Regions from separate parts of the Homo sapiens genome. Here region 1 is linked to region 2. The links are contacts of gene promoters, found by promoter capture Hi-C in blood cells and fetal thymus (Javierre and others, 2016). All regions are on one chromosome and are shown on one strand. Each heading gives the region's core, a stretch centred on a gene start or on the middle of the fragment in contact. The rest is flanking DNA. Distances are from core to core; before and after follow the strand shown. Region 1 overlaps GON7 (GON7 subunit of KEOPS complex). Region 2 holds the start of BTBD7 (BTB domain containing 7).

Region 1 (5,658 bases), core at 2,929-5,428, 130 kb before region 2:
AAAAAAAAAATAGCCAAGCGTGATTGCATGCACCTGTAGTCCTGGCTACTCTATAGGCCAAGTGGGAAGACTGCTTGAGCCCTGAAAAATCTTGAGCTATTGAACTCAAGATTGCTTGAGCCCTTACCTTCCAAATGAGTTTGAAGTTGCAGCGAGCTATGTTCATGACACTGCACTCCAGCCTGCATGACAGAGACCATCTCAAAAAAAAAAAAAAATCCTCTGATTCTGAATGCCCATTTCTAAATGGAGAGGCGGGGGAATTGATTTCCTCACATACATTTTTTTTCCTACTTTTCCAAAGTAAGTTTTTCTTCCCAAAAAGGTTTAAATGTCTTAAAATTAATTTTGCACCAACCTAATATTATAGCCAAGCAACCACAACCTATTATAAAAAAGTTCTCGTCCTTGGCCACAGAATTCTATTATTAAAATAAACATTTCTGTGACGCAAAAGGACTTACTTTTAGAAAACACATCTATCTTGCATAAATTCCATATGTTTCACATTTTAAAAGATTTATCTAAGTCTAATGTCAAGCTTATTTTTAGGTAGGATTGTGCGGCTGACTTTCCTGTTCAAAAGTAAAGTTGGAGCTGTTTCAAAGAGTAACTTTATTCTGCTTGCCTGTGGCTGTTTGTACCACAGAAGGCAGATTTGTCAGGTGCGGTGGCTCATGCCTGTAATCCTAGCACTTTGGGAGGCCAAGGCAGGAGGATCGCTTACAGCCAAGAGTTTTAAGACCACCCAGGGCTACAAAGCAAGGCCCCCATCTCTACAAAAAATTAAAAAATTAGCCTGGCAGCTGGGCACGGTGGCTCACACCTGTAATCCAAGCACTTTGGGAGGCCAAAGTGGGTGGATCACCTAAGGTCAGGAGTTCAAGACCAGCCTGGCCAACATGGTGAAACCATGTCTCTACTAAAATACAAAAATTAGCCAGGCGTGGTGGCAGGCACCTGTAATCCCAGCTGCTTGGGAGGCTGAGGCATGAGAATCGCTTGAACCTGGGAGGTGGATGTTACAGTGAGCCAAGACCATGCCATTTCACTCCAGCCCGGGCAAAAAGAGTGAAACTCCATTTCAAAAAAAAAAAAAAAAAAAAATGGCCGGGTGCGGTGTCTGTAATCCCAGCACTTTGGAAGGCCAAGGCGGGTGGATTACCTGAGGTCGGGAGTTTGAGATCAGCCTAATCAACATGGAGAAACCCCATCTCTACTAAAAATACAAAATTAGCCTGGCCTGGTGGCGCATGCCGGTAGTCCCAGTTACTTGTGAGGCTGAGGCAGGAGAATCGCTTGAACCTGGGAGGTGGAAGTTGTAATGAGCCAAGATTGCACCATTGCACTCCAGCCTGGGCAACAAGAGCGAAATTCCGTCTAAAAAAAAAAAAAGAAGAAATAAGATAAAAAATAAATTAGCCTGGCGTGATGGCACACACCTAGTGCTTGGCTGCTTGGGAAGCTGTGGTGCGAGGATCACCTGAGCCCAGGAATTCCAGGCTGCAGTGAGCTGATTGCGCCACTGTACTCCAGCCTGAGTGACAGTGAGACCCAAGAGCAGCAGCAGATTAGGCAACTTGGCAAAGCATTTCTTCTATACTGGTCCATCTTTGTCAAACACATGGCTTACTTATGAAGAAGACAGTATTAGAATTGAAATCAGTATTAAAATTAATTAAAAGACCAATCTTATAAATCAGAACCTAAAAACACTGGGACACAAACACAAATATTATCTTGAAATTTCTTCTTTATAACCACATTTTCCAAAGGAGGAAACATAAAATGTTCAGAGAAAAGGTTCAAATATCAGTTTAACAATGTGCTCTCTTTTCAGTATATACAGGTAAGTTTTTTTCTTTTCTTTTTTGAGATGGAGTTTCGCTCTTGTTGCCCAGTCTGGTGTGCAATGGCACCACTGGCTCACTGCAACTTCTGCCTCCCAGTTTCAAGCTATTCTCCTGCCTCAGCCTCCCAAGTAGCTGGGAATACAGGCATGTGCCACCACACCAGGCAAATTTTGTATTTTTAGTAGAGACTGGGTTGCTCCATGTTGGTTGGGCTGGTCTCGAACCCTCGACCTCAGGTGATCCGCCCACCTCGGCCTCCCAAAGTGCTGGGAATACAGCCATCAGCCACCGTGCCCAACCAGTTTTTTCTTTAATGATTGTATAGAGATAACAGTACTATAATAAATAAGTTAAATGTTAGAAACATCAACATAAACTAAACAAAGATAATTTCTGACCATCCATAACTTTTTCTAGTTGGCACTGTTTTGATTGCCCAAGAGTACTTAGTGGAAGGCTGCTTGCTGTTCCAACTAAAACAATATTTCAAGGATATGAAAAAGTGTGTAAATTGAGTTTCACTTAAATTATTTCACAATAAAAGTGATTCATAAAAGTTGATTAGTCCGGGCATGGTGGTTCACGCCTGTAATCCCAGCACTTTGGGAGGCAGAGGTGGGCAGATCCCTTGAGTCCAGGAGTTCTAGACCAGCCTGGGCAACGTGGTGAAACCATCTCTACAAATACAAAAAAATTAGCCAGGTGTGCTGGTGCATGCCTGTGGTCCCAGCTATTTGAGAGGGTGAGGTGGGAAGATCACCTAAGCCTGGGACTCGGAGGTTGCAGTGACAGTGAGCCGCGATCGTGCCACTGCACTCCAGCCTGGGTGACAGAGTGAAACCCTGTCTAAAAATAAAAATTTAAAAAAGAAAGAAAGAAAAAAAGGCTACGCACGGTGGCTCACGCCTGTAATCCCAGCACTTTGGGAGGCTGAGGCGGGCGGGTCACGAGGTCAGGAGTTCGAGACCAGCCTTACCAACATGGTGAAACCCCATCTCTACTAAAAATATAAAAATTAGTCGGGCGTGGTGGTGTGCACCTACAATCCCAGCTACTCAGGAGGCTGAAGCAGGACAATTGCTTGAACCTGGGAGGTGGAGGTTGCAGTGTGCCCAGATCGCACCATTGCACTCCAGCCTGGGCAACAGAGCAAGACTCCATCTGAAAAAAAAGTTGACCCTGGGAAAAAAAAAAAAATTGACCTGGCGTGGTGGCTCATGCCTGTAATCCCAGCACTTTGGGAAGCCAAGGTGGGTGAATCACCTGAGGTCAGGAGTTCGAGACCAGCCTGACCAACATGGTGAAACCCCATCTCCACTAAAAATACAAAATTAGCTGGGCGTGGTGGCACATGCCTGTAATTTCAGCTACTTGGGAGGCTGAGGCAGAAGAATTGCTTGAATCCGGGAGGGAGAGGTTGCAGTGAGCCAAGATTGTGCCACTGCACTCCGGCCTGGGCAACAAGAGTGAAACTCTGTCTCAAAAAAAAAAAAAAAAAGAAAAAAAAAGTTGATCTTCTCTCACCTTTTATCAGCTTAAAAAAAATCTAAAGGCTATTTATGTAACCCAGTTTGTCAATGGTTAGCTCTGTAATCTGAGGGCAAATACTTATCCTTAGATTTATCTCTGAAATAAATCACATAATTTGTAAAGTGACTTCCAACTCTAAAATTCCATGACTATTTGTATTTTACTAGGTACATGCTACTTGATTTCTTTGCATTGAAGCTATCTAAATCAGGAAGGATGCACAGCAAATAAAAATGCCTTAGTCCCACTGACGAGCAGAAAAGAAACACACACACATACATATTTTAGGAATATATATTTTTAAAAGGATTCAATAATCTTTTTAAAGCAAAATCAAAGTATGGCTACAGGAGGAGAGGAAATATCCAAATTGTAATCAATGCAGATTGTTTACTTAAGGCCTTATATTTGTACCTGTATAAATACCATATCACAGCACAAAAACATACCCCATCTGGCTCTCTTAAGGTACATGATAAATCAGACTAATGCACATTCATCAAAGTGGCATCATCTCAGGATATGTGCATATTTGACGTGGGTATGAATTCAGGGTTTCCTTGGGTCTCTTTCAAGGACTCTCCTTTCTCGTCGGTATTTCTATTTCCTTATTTTCCTTCTGTTTATGAAGAACTGTTATTTTTATATTTAATGCCCAATTTTCACTACTTGTTCATGTCAGTTCTCTGAAATGTTACTGCCTATGAACCGTGACATGTACTCTTTATAACAGAACCAGAAGTTAAAAGATGTAGACATCACACAAATCAATGATTATTTTAAAAATAGAAAACAATGATAAAAATTCAGTTGCCAACTTAGAGGATTTTATACATTATGAAGTGTTCTATTTTCCTTCCAGGGTCTGAAATTTATTTCTCAAGAAAACAGATTTTATTTCTAAGCCTTTACTATCTTTGCTAGAAACAGAAAAACCAGTTTTCTCTTTGACAAAATTGTCCCAGGAGAACAACACAAATGCTTTTTCCAAATTAGAGCATAAGTCTTCCTTAAATGTCCTAGTGTGACAATAAGGATACAACAGCCATCTTTTAAATGTCATGAAGGCTATTGTTAAGACGGTGTTTTTGGCCGTTTTGCAGATGGTCCATCGAAGTTAGTTCTGTTATCAATGTTATTTTCATCTTCTGCATCATCTTCATCATCACCTTTTAAAATAAATATTTGTTGTATGACAATACGTTCTATGGCTGAAAGAAATATATATAGCTAAAGTGGTTGATAATGAGACCATTTCACTTTAGGGATTAATAAAACCTGCACATTTTAGATTAAAATGATTTTGAGAATTTCAGTGTTTAAAATCTTTATTTTCTATCACTTTCCTCTTTGGAAATATTAGTTCATTCACCATAAAATCCACTCTTTTTTTCTTTTTTTTTGAGATAGTCTTGCTCTGTCGCCAGGCTGGAGTGCAGTGGCACGATCTCAGCTTACTGCAACCTCCGCCTCCGGGGTTCAAGCGATTCCTCTGTCTCAGCCTCCCAAGTAGCTGGGATTACAGGCACGCGCTACCACGCCCGGCTAATTTTTTGCATTTTAGTAGAGATGGGGTTTCACCATGTTGGCCAAGATGGTCTTGTTCTCCTGACCTCGTGATCCGCCCGCCTCGGCCTCCCAAAGTGCTGGGATTACAGGTATGAACCATTGTGGCTGGCCAAAATCCACTCTTTTAAAAAGTGTACGGCCTAGTGGTTTTTAGTATATTCACTAGCTTGTGCAACCATCACCTAGAACACTTTCATCACTCCAAAGAGAAATGATATGCCCATTAGCAGTCGCTTTCCATTCCCCTCAGCCTTCGGCAACCACTAATCTACTTTTTTTCCCCCTTATTAGAGATAGGGTCTTGCTATGTTGCCCAGCTAGACTCAAACTCCCAGGTTCAAGTGATCCTCCTGTCTCAGCCTCTAGAGTAGCTGGGACTACAGGTGCCCACCACTGCACCTGGCTCACTAATCTACTCTATCTCTATGGATTTGCCTATTCTGTACATTCATATAAACAAAATCATGCAACATGTACCCTTTTGTGTCTGGCTCTCACTTAGCATAATGTTTTCAAGGTTCATTCATGTTGTAGCACATGTTAATACTTCATTACTTTTTATTGCTAATAATAGTCCATTGTATGGATATACCACATTTTGTTAATGCACTCATCGGTTGATGGATATTTGCATTATTTCTATTTTTTAAAATTATCATTTTTAGAGATGAAGAGATGAGGCCTCACTCTGTCCTCCAGGCTGGAG
Region 2 (6,224 bases), core at 2,337-4,836:
ATAAAATTCATAAAATAAATGAAAGCAGAGACTCAGATATTTTAACATCCATGTTCACAGCAGCTTTATTCACAACAGTCAAAATGTGGATGCAACTTAAGTGCCCATTGAGGGGAACTTAACAAAATATAAAAATAACATACAATGGAATATTATTCAGCCTTAAAAAGAAAGCAAATTGTGACACATGCTACAATATGGATGGACCTTGATGACATTATACTAAGTGAAATAAGCCAGATATAGAAGGACAAATACTGTATAATTTCACTTATACGTGGTACTTACAGTAGTCAAAATAAAAGAGACAGTAGAACTGTGGGTGCCAGGGGCTGGGGGTAAGGGAAAATGGACAGTTTCGGTTTAGAAATATGTAGTCATGAGCCTAAGAAAACTCCAAATGAAAGAATTCTACAGATGGATGGTGGTGATGGCATGGCTACACAACAATGTAAATGTACTTATGCCACAGAACTATACACTTAAAAATGGTTAAGATGGTAAATTGTATGTGGATTTTACCACAATTAAGCCCACAGATATCTGCTATCCAAATCCTTCCTACTGACTTTATCCGGGTCTAAGATCTCCTATTTGGGTTACTACAGCAGCTACTGTCTTCCTTGGTTCATTACATTCTCTCCTCACTCTAACTTAACCTGTAGATCATTAACAGGTTTACCTTCCTGGTTTACCACATTAATCCCTGGCCTCCAAACTTTCAAAGGCTCTCTATACCTTGCACAACAGGATAAAAGTAGAAATCTCCTCAATTCAGCACTCAAACTCTTCTACAGACAAATAGCTTTCCAACTGACTAAAGTTTCCTAACGAAAACATTCTCCTCAGGAAATTCAGTTGTCAGCTCATCCTAGTCTCCTTCTATTTCCCTCCCCCTAAGCTAATCTTCACTTTACACTCTTGCTTTTTCCTCACAAAGTAACTGCTACAATCTCTCGGTAAATCTAAACTTTCATAGGCCAGCTCAAATCCGAAGTTTCCCAAGTTCTTTGGACTCTTGGGGTCTCACTCATCTCTCTCTACCCTGTATACCAACAGCATTCTTTGCATTAGTAGAACTCACTAGATTGTCTTCGAGACTCATGTTGGTACACCTGATCTTTCCAATAAGAACTTGAGGGAAAAGTCTATATGTTAATGGCAAAAACTGCAGTTACTTTTGCACCAACCTAATATTATGTTTCTTTCCTTTCTTCCACATCATTCATCTAATGCAAAACAAAAAGCAGACCTTCAACAGTCACCTATGTAATTTTGGATGTGTGAGCTTCCGTGACTAGAATCTGAAATCAGAATAACTTTGGCATTACTGCACTTCCGAAGGTTTACCTGAGACACACTATAAAAATGCTGTGACTCAAGATGATACCTGGAAACTAGGTAGTGTAACCTAGAAATCAACACAGGTGCTTTAAATCCTAAAATCAGAGTCTGATAGAAAAACCTTGTTTAAATGCTGGTGTTGGGACACAAAACAATACAGTAGTCAGGTTTTGTGGGACAGAATATTGACCTATGAGTTTTACTGAATTCATGCAAGAATGAGCCATGCTAAAACTGGGTGAAAATGTAGTCATGAGCCTAAGAAAACTCCAAACGAAATATCACTCCGTTTTTATTAAGTTCAGGTTAGGAAAAAAAAAAAATCTTCATCAGTTACTTGAAGTAGCTGTCAGAATGAGACAGAGGCTCTCATTTTCGCTTTCAACTTTATTACACCAAAACCCTATGGATAGGGGTAGGTAGTGAATGGTGAAGAATGCAATCAATGAAAAGTAAGCAGCTCAGCAGTGTAGTAACAATGAGCTCTCTAAATGGGGTAATGGGGTGTAGAGGCCTACATCTTAGTTTTGGTCTAATCCATCGCCAGCTGTAGGATCCACAACAAGTCACTCGCCTCTCTGGGTCTGGTTTCCCGGCTCTAAAACAATATTCACACCTTTAGATCTCTAAAAGTTTTTCTGACTCCAAAATTCCATGACAAGTCTAATAACAGTTGCTATTAACAACGTATGATTCTTGCAAAGCAATTTCAAGTCTTTCTTCCACATTTCAGGAAGAAAGCAATTCATTTCAGCAATCTAAAGGAAACAGATGCTATTAGGGACAAAAGATTGTTAGTTGACCAGACCGGGCGCGGTGGCTCACGCCTGCAATCCCAGTAGTTCGGAAGGACGAGGCGGGCGGATCACCAGAGGTCAGGAGCTCGAGACCAGTCTGGCCAACATGGTGAAACCACGTCTCTATTAAAAATACAAAAACTAGCCGGGCGTGGCAGCGGGCGCCTGTAATCCCAGCTACTTGGGAGGCTGAGACAGGAGAATCGCTTGAACCTGAGAGGCGGAGGTTGCAGTGAGTCGAGATCGCACCACTGTTCTCCAGCCTGGGTGACAGAGCGAGACTCCGTCTCCCCCCCCCCAAAAAGGTTGTTAGTTGAAAAAGCTAAGTAATTCTGTAAAAATGTCTACTTTCTCATTACAGTAAGATGTTTTCGCAGAGTTAACAGTGCTCTGGTGTAGATAACCAAGACTGCTTCTGTAAATTAGGCCTACTCCAGAGTACTTATTATCTGTGCTGGTATGTGAAGACGTGCAATTGTAGTTCACAGGAGAAACAACACTCCTCAGAGTTTCTTGAAAAACGGTGAGAAAGTTCTCACCCTCGGGGTAAAGCTAGCAAACACTGTGCAAATAAGGTACTGAAATATGCACACTTTTTGCCATTCAAGTAGTCCAACAAGCACAGCCTCCTCTTCTTTATCAAACACTCGGTATTGTCTCCCTCCCAACCTGTCAAAGCTCAATTCCAGGTTTATCCCGCAATAGTAACTTACCCGGACAATCTAACTTCCCCTGGGAGTAGCAGTCCTCAGGCCTGCTCCCTTCCCAGACCCCGCCGGCCACTCTCACGCCCACCCCTGGCGGTCGCAACCCCGCACCCGGGTAAACACGCGCCCCCGTCTCGGGAGCGGTTTCTCAGCGTCCTGGGAGCGACGGGTCCCGCCCCTCGGCGCCCGGAGCCCAAAGCCGGCCGGGCTGCCGTCGCGACTCCCTCGGGCCGCTCTCCCCGCCCCGAGCGCCACACCTCGCGCCCCTGCCCCAGGGACGGCGGCGCGCTCCAGCCCGCCCCTCGGAGCGCACAGAGACCGGCCAGTCCGGCGCCGCCGCGCCTCAGCCCCAGACGGACGACTGGCCCCTCCCCGCCCGGCGCCCCAGCGCCTCCCGCGGCGGCTTGGCCCCAGCCCCGGCGCCCCCACGCCTAAGAACAGCCCCTTCCTCTCCCGGACGCCCCGCGCCACACCGGACACAGCCTCGGCTCCACAGCCTCAGAGACACCAAGGGACACTCACCCCGGAGGCTCCTCCCGCCGCTGCTGCTGCCGCTGGGACCGCTGCCGTCGCCTCCGCCGCCGCCGCCACCAGCACCGCCGTCCGCACCGGCGCCAGCACCCCCGGCCATCCTCCTCCCACCGCCGCCGCCGCCGCCCTCTCCTCTCCTGTCAGTGGCTCAGGCTCCGGGACTGCTCCAGGTTCCCCTCGCCGCCATTTTGACTCCTAGACGGAGCAGGAGGGGCTCGGTTCGGCGTGGCCCTGGGGCGCCTGCGCGGCGCTGCGGAGCCGGCCGGAGCCCCCGCCCTCCCCTGCCGTCGTCCCGCTCAGGGTCACGTGGCCCGACGTCGCCGCGCGAGTCGGGCCGCGTGGGGGGGCGGTGCGTTCGCTGGATCCATGGGAGCGGAGTGCGCGCGCATTATTTTTGCTCGTCGGCTGGGAGCCGGGCGTCGGGTCGCTGGGAGTTTGCCTCTTGTGGCAGCATCCTGCTTAGTCCAGCGAATTGTGACACATTATTAAATGTATCAGAATATAAGAACTGTGTCACTACTACGTCACCAGATGGCCATTTCCACGAATTCATGTTTCCGTTCGGCGGCCGGCGTCCCTCGGGTGGTCGCATGCAATGAGTGCATCTTTCTCGAGAACAACTCTTCCGCGGAAAGTCATTGCTGACAGTCCTGGCATTCCGGTGGCTGCTTCTTGGCAGTGAGCACTTGTCTATCGTAAGCACTTGTCTGCATGGTACTTTTACAGGCACCACCTTGCTACTTGTGTAGTAGGTTAAAAAATAATCTTTAAGACACTGAAAAGTTTTCCTTAACAAGATACCCCTGTAAACAAAGGACAAAATTGATGAAAACACACAGTCGCCACGTGGGAGAGCCAAGTCGCTCTTCCCTAGATGCCCCTTGTTTGGGGGTTTGCAATAATTTCAGCGATGCAATAACAAAAATACTGTATTTATGGGGCACTGTCGTTTTCCAGAGAGATCCATGGTTTCATTTGAACGCCAAAGCCACCCTTTGTGGTAGTCAGGATAGGTGTTTTTATTGCTGTTTTACAACCAAGGAGACAGGCTCAGAAATACTAACAAGTAGGCAAGCCAAGATCAGAACCCAGGCATTCTGAACCCAGTGAGGAGGCACCGTTACACCTCCTTTTCCTCTGATAGACATTAGCAACTCTGGGAATTTATTTGAAAGTATTGTATTTGCATTTTCAATCTCTACCCATTGTTTAACAAGTTTTGTGTCACACAGTTTTTTGTTGTTGTTGTTCTGAAACCACCTCTAAGCTTCAAAGGATAAGAGCAATTTGGAATTTTGTGATGTGTTTTTAACCATCTCTTGACCCTCCATTATTTTATGCTTTTCATATTCAGTTGGAGACAATATCATTGTTGTTTTCCTCTGGACTTCCTTCAGATTTGTATTTTCCTCACCCTCATTCTTCATCACCTTACTTCCTTGAAAAGGATAGCTCTTTCCAATTTGTATTACTTCATTTTCTTTACCCATCTCACCCTTTTCACCCTCTTACCCAATCCTTGAAGGTTTGGAGATTGTAGCAGAGATTGTAGCAGTCCCTTGCCTGAAATTCCCCTCTAGCTGGTAAGGGTCACTTCAGTTGAACATACAGCCTCAGGGCGATAGACAAGAAATGCATGGAAAAGTGAGAAAATATAAAAGAAATAGGTCCATCTAATTGGAGCCAATGATTACCTCTGAGTGTCCACCTCTTGTTCCACACTTTTATACTTCCCCAAAGGCGTAAGTGAACCTTATCTAAATTCAAGCCATTTACTGTTATTTTCCATCATTTTACCTTTGTCTTAATTTGCTAAATACAGTTAACACTTGAACAACACGGGTTTGAACTGTGCGGATCGATCAATGCAACCTGGTACATGGGATTCTAAACACCGTATTGAGAGGGCCGACTTTTCTTATACTCACATTCCACAGGACGGACAGGCAGACTTGAGTATGCTTGGATTGGGGTATATGTGGTGGGTCCTGGAACCAATCCCACGTATATAGTATATGGGGGATGACTGTATTGCATTAACTGAAAGAGCTATGATTAGCAAACTAAAAAGCGGTGTGTAAACACTGCTTCTTTATAATTTATGGAAATGTTAAATAAGATCAGTCCCCACTGTTTACACTTATTACTAACCTTTATTACTTGACTTTGCTTCTATTTCCTAGCCACAATTTAAAAAACAAAATTAAAATGGTATCAACAACAATAGAATTCTAAGTAATTTCAGGATAACACTTTTTCTAACAGCCTTTGATGTGGAAATCTAAAACTTTTTGAAAAGCCAAGTAAGGTCTGCTGGTTGCACCTTGTCCTTTTGTCTATCTGCACAGCTGGAGACTTCTAGTAGACTGTTTGGATCTAGAAACCATTTGTAAGTGATCCATGATTTTTTTCTACCCTTTAATTCATTCACTGTTTCCTTATTATACCATTTAACTGTACTTTTGAGATCCTGAATTAGCTCAGTTTACACACTCATCAGAATTTAGATGTTTATTTTAGTTCAGTCCGATACACATTTAAAGTATCCAGTACCATGTGCCAAGCACGGTACTACATGCTGGGGGTAAAAAATAAATGGATCTTTGTACTTAAGGAGCTTAGAATCTAAATAAGAAGACAGAGTGAAAAACATTTTTTTAAGGCTAGTGTTAAGATGGTACTAAGTAGTGGTTAACAGCATGCATTCTAGAATCAGATAGATCTGGATGGCCATATGACACAAATAGGTCAACCAGAACCTTTTCTGGAAATTTTTGCCACACTCTCAGAGGAGATGTTTCTTCTTACTCTATTTCTCCGGGATTATGACTCGAAAGGACATGTA

Evidence for each region. The method cuts DNA at HindIII sites, captures the fragments that hold promoters and counts their contacts. A CHiCAGO score of 5 or more calls a contact.
Region 1: a fragment that was not itself captured here is called in contact with the fragment with the promoter of BTBD7 in region 2 in 1 of 17 cell types (fetal thymus); the score reaches 5.2 in fetal thymus.

What each region holds. Positions count from the first base shown.
Region 1 is chr14:93,199,231-93,204,888 of GRCh38, forward strand. GON7 (GON7 subunit of KEOPS complex) reads right to left here. Exons shown (of 2, transcript NM_032490.5): 2 at 3,664-4,552. The coding sequence ends at 4,458. Among named protein-coding and RNA genes, the nearest start is that of GON7, 5.0 kb to the right of the region's middle. The HindIII fragment of the contact is 7,279 bases long and covers 540-5,658 here.
Region 2 is chr14:93,329,450-93,335,673 of GRCh38, forward strand. It overlaps BTBD7 (BTB domain containing 7), which reads right to left and starts at 3,587. Exons shown (of 11, transcript NM_001002860.4): 1 at 3,371-3,587. It also overlaps a transcript of UNC79 not described here. The HindIII fragment of the contact is 5,146 bases long and covers 1-4,644 here.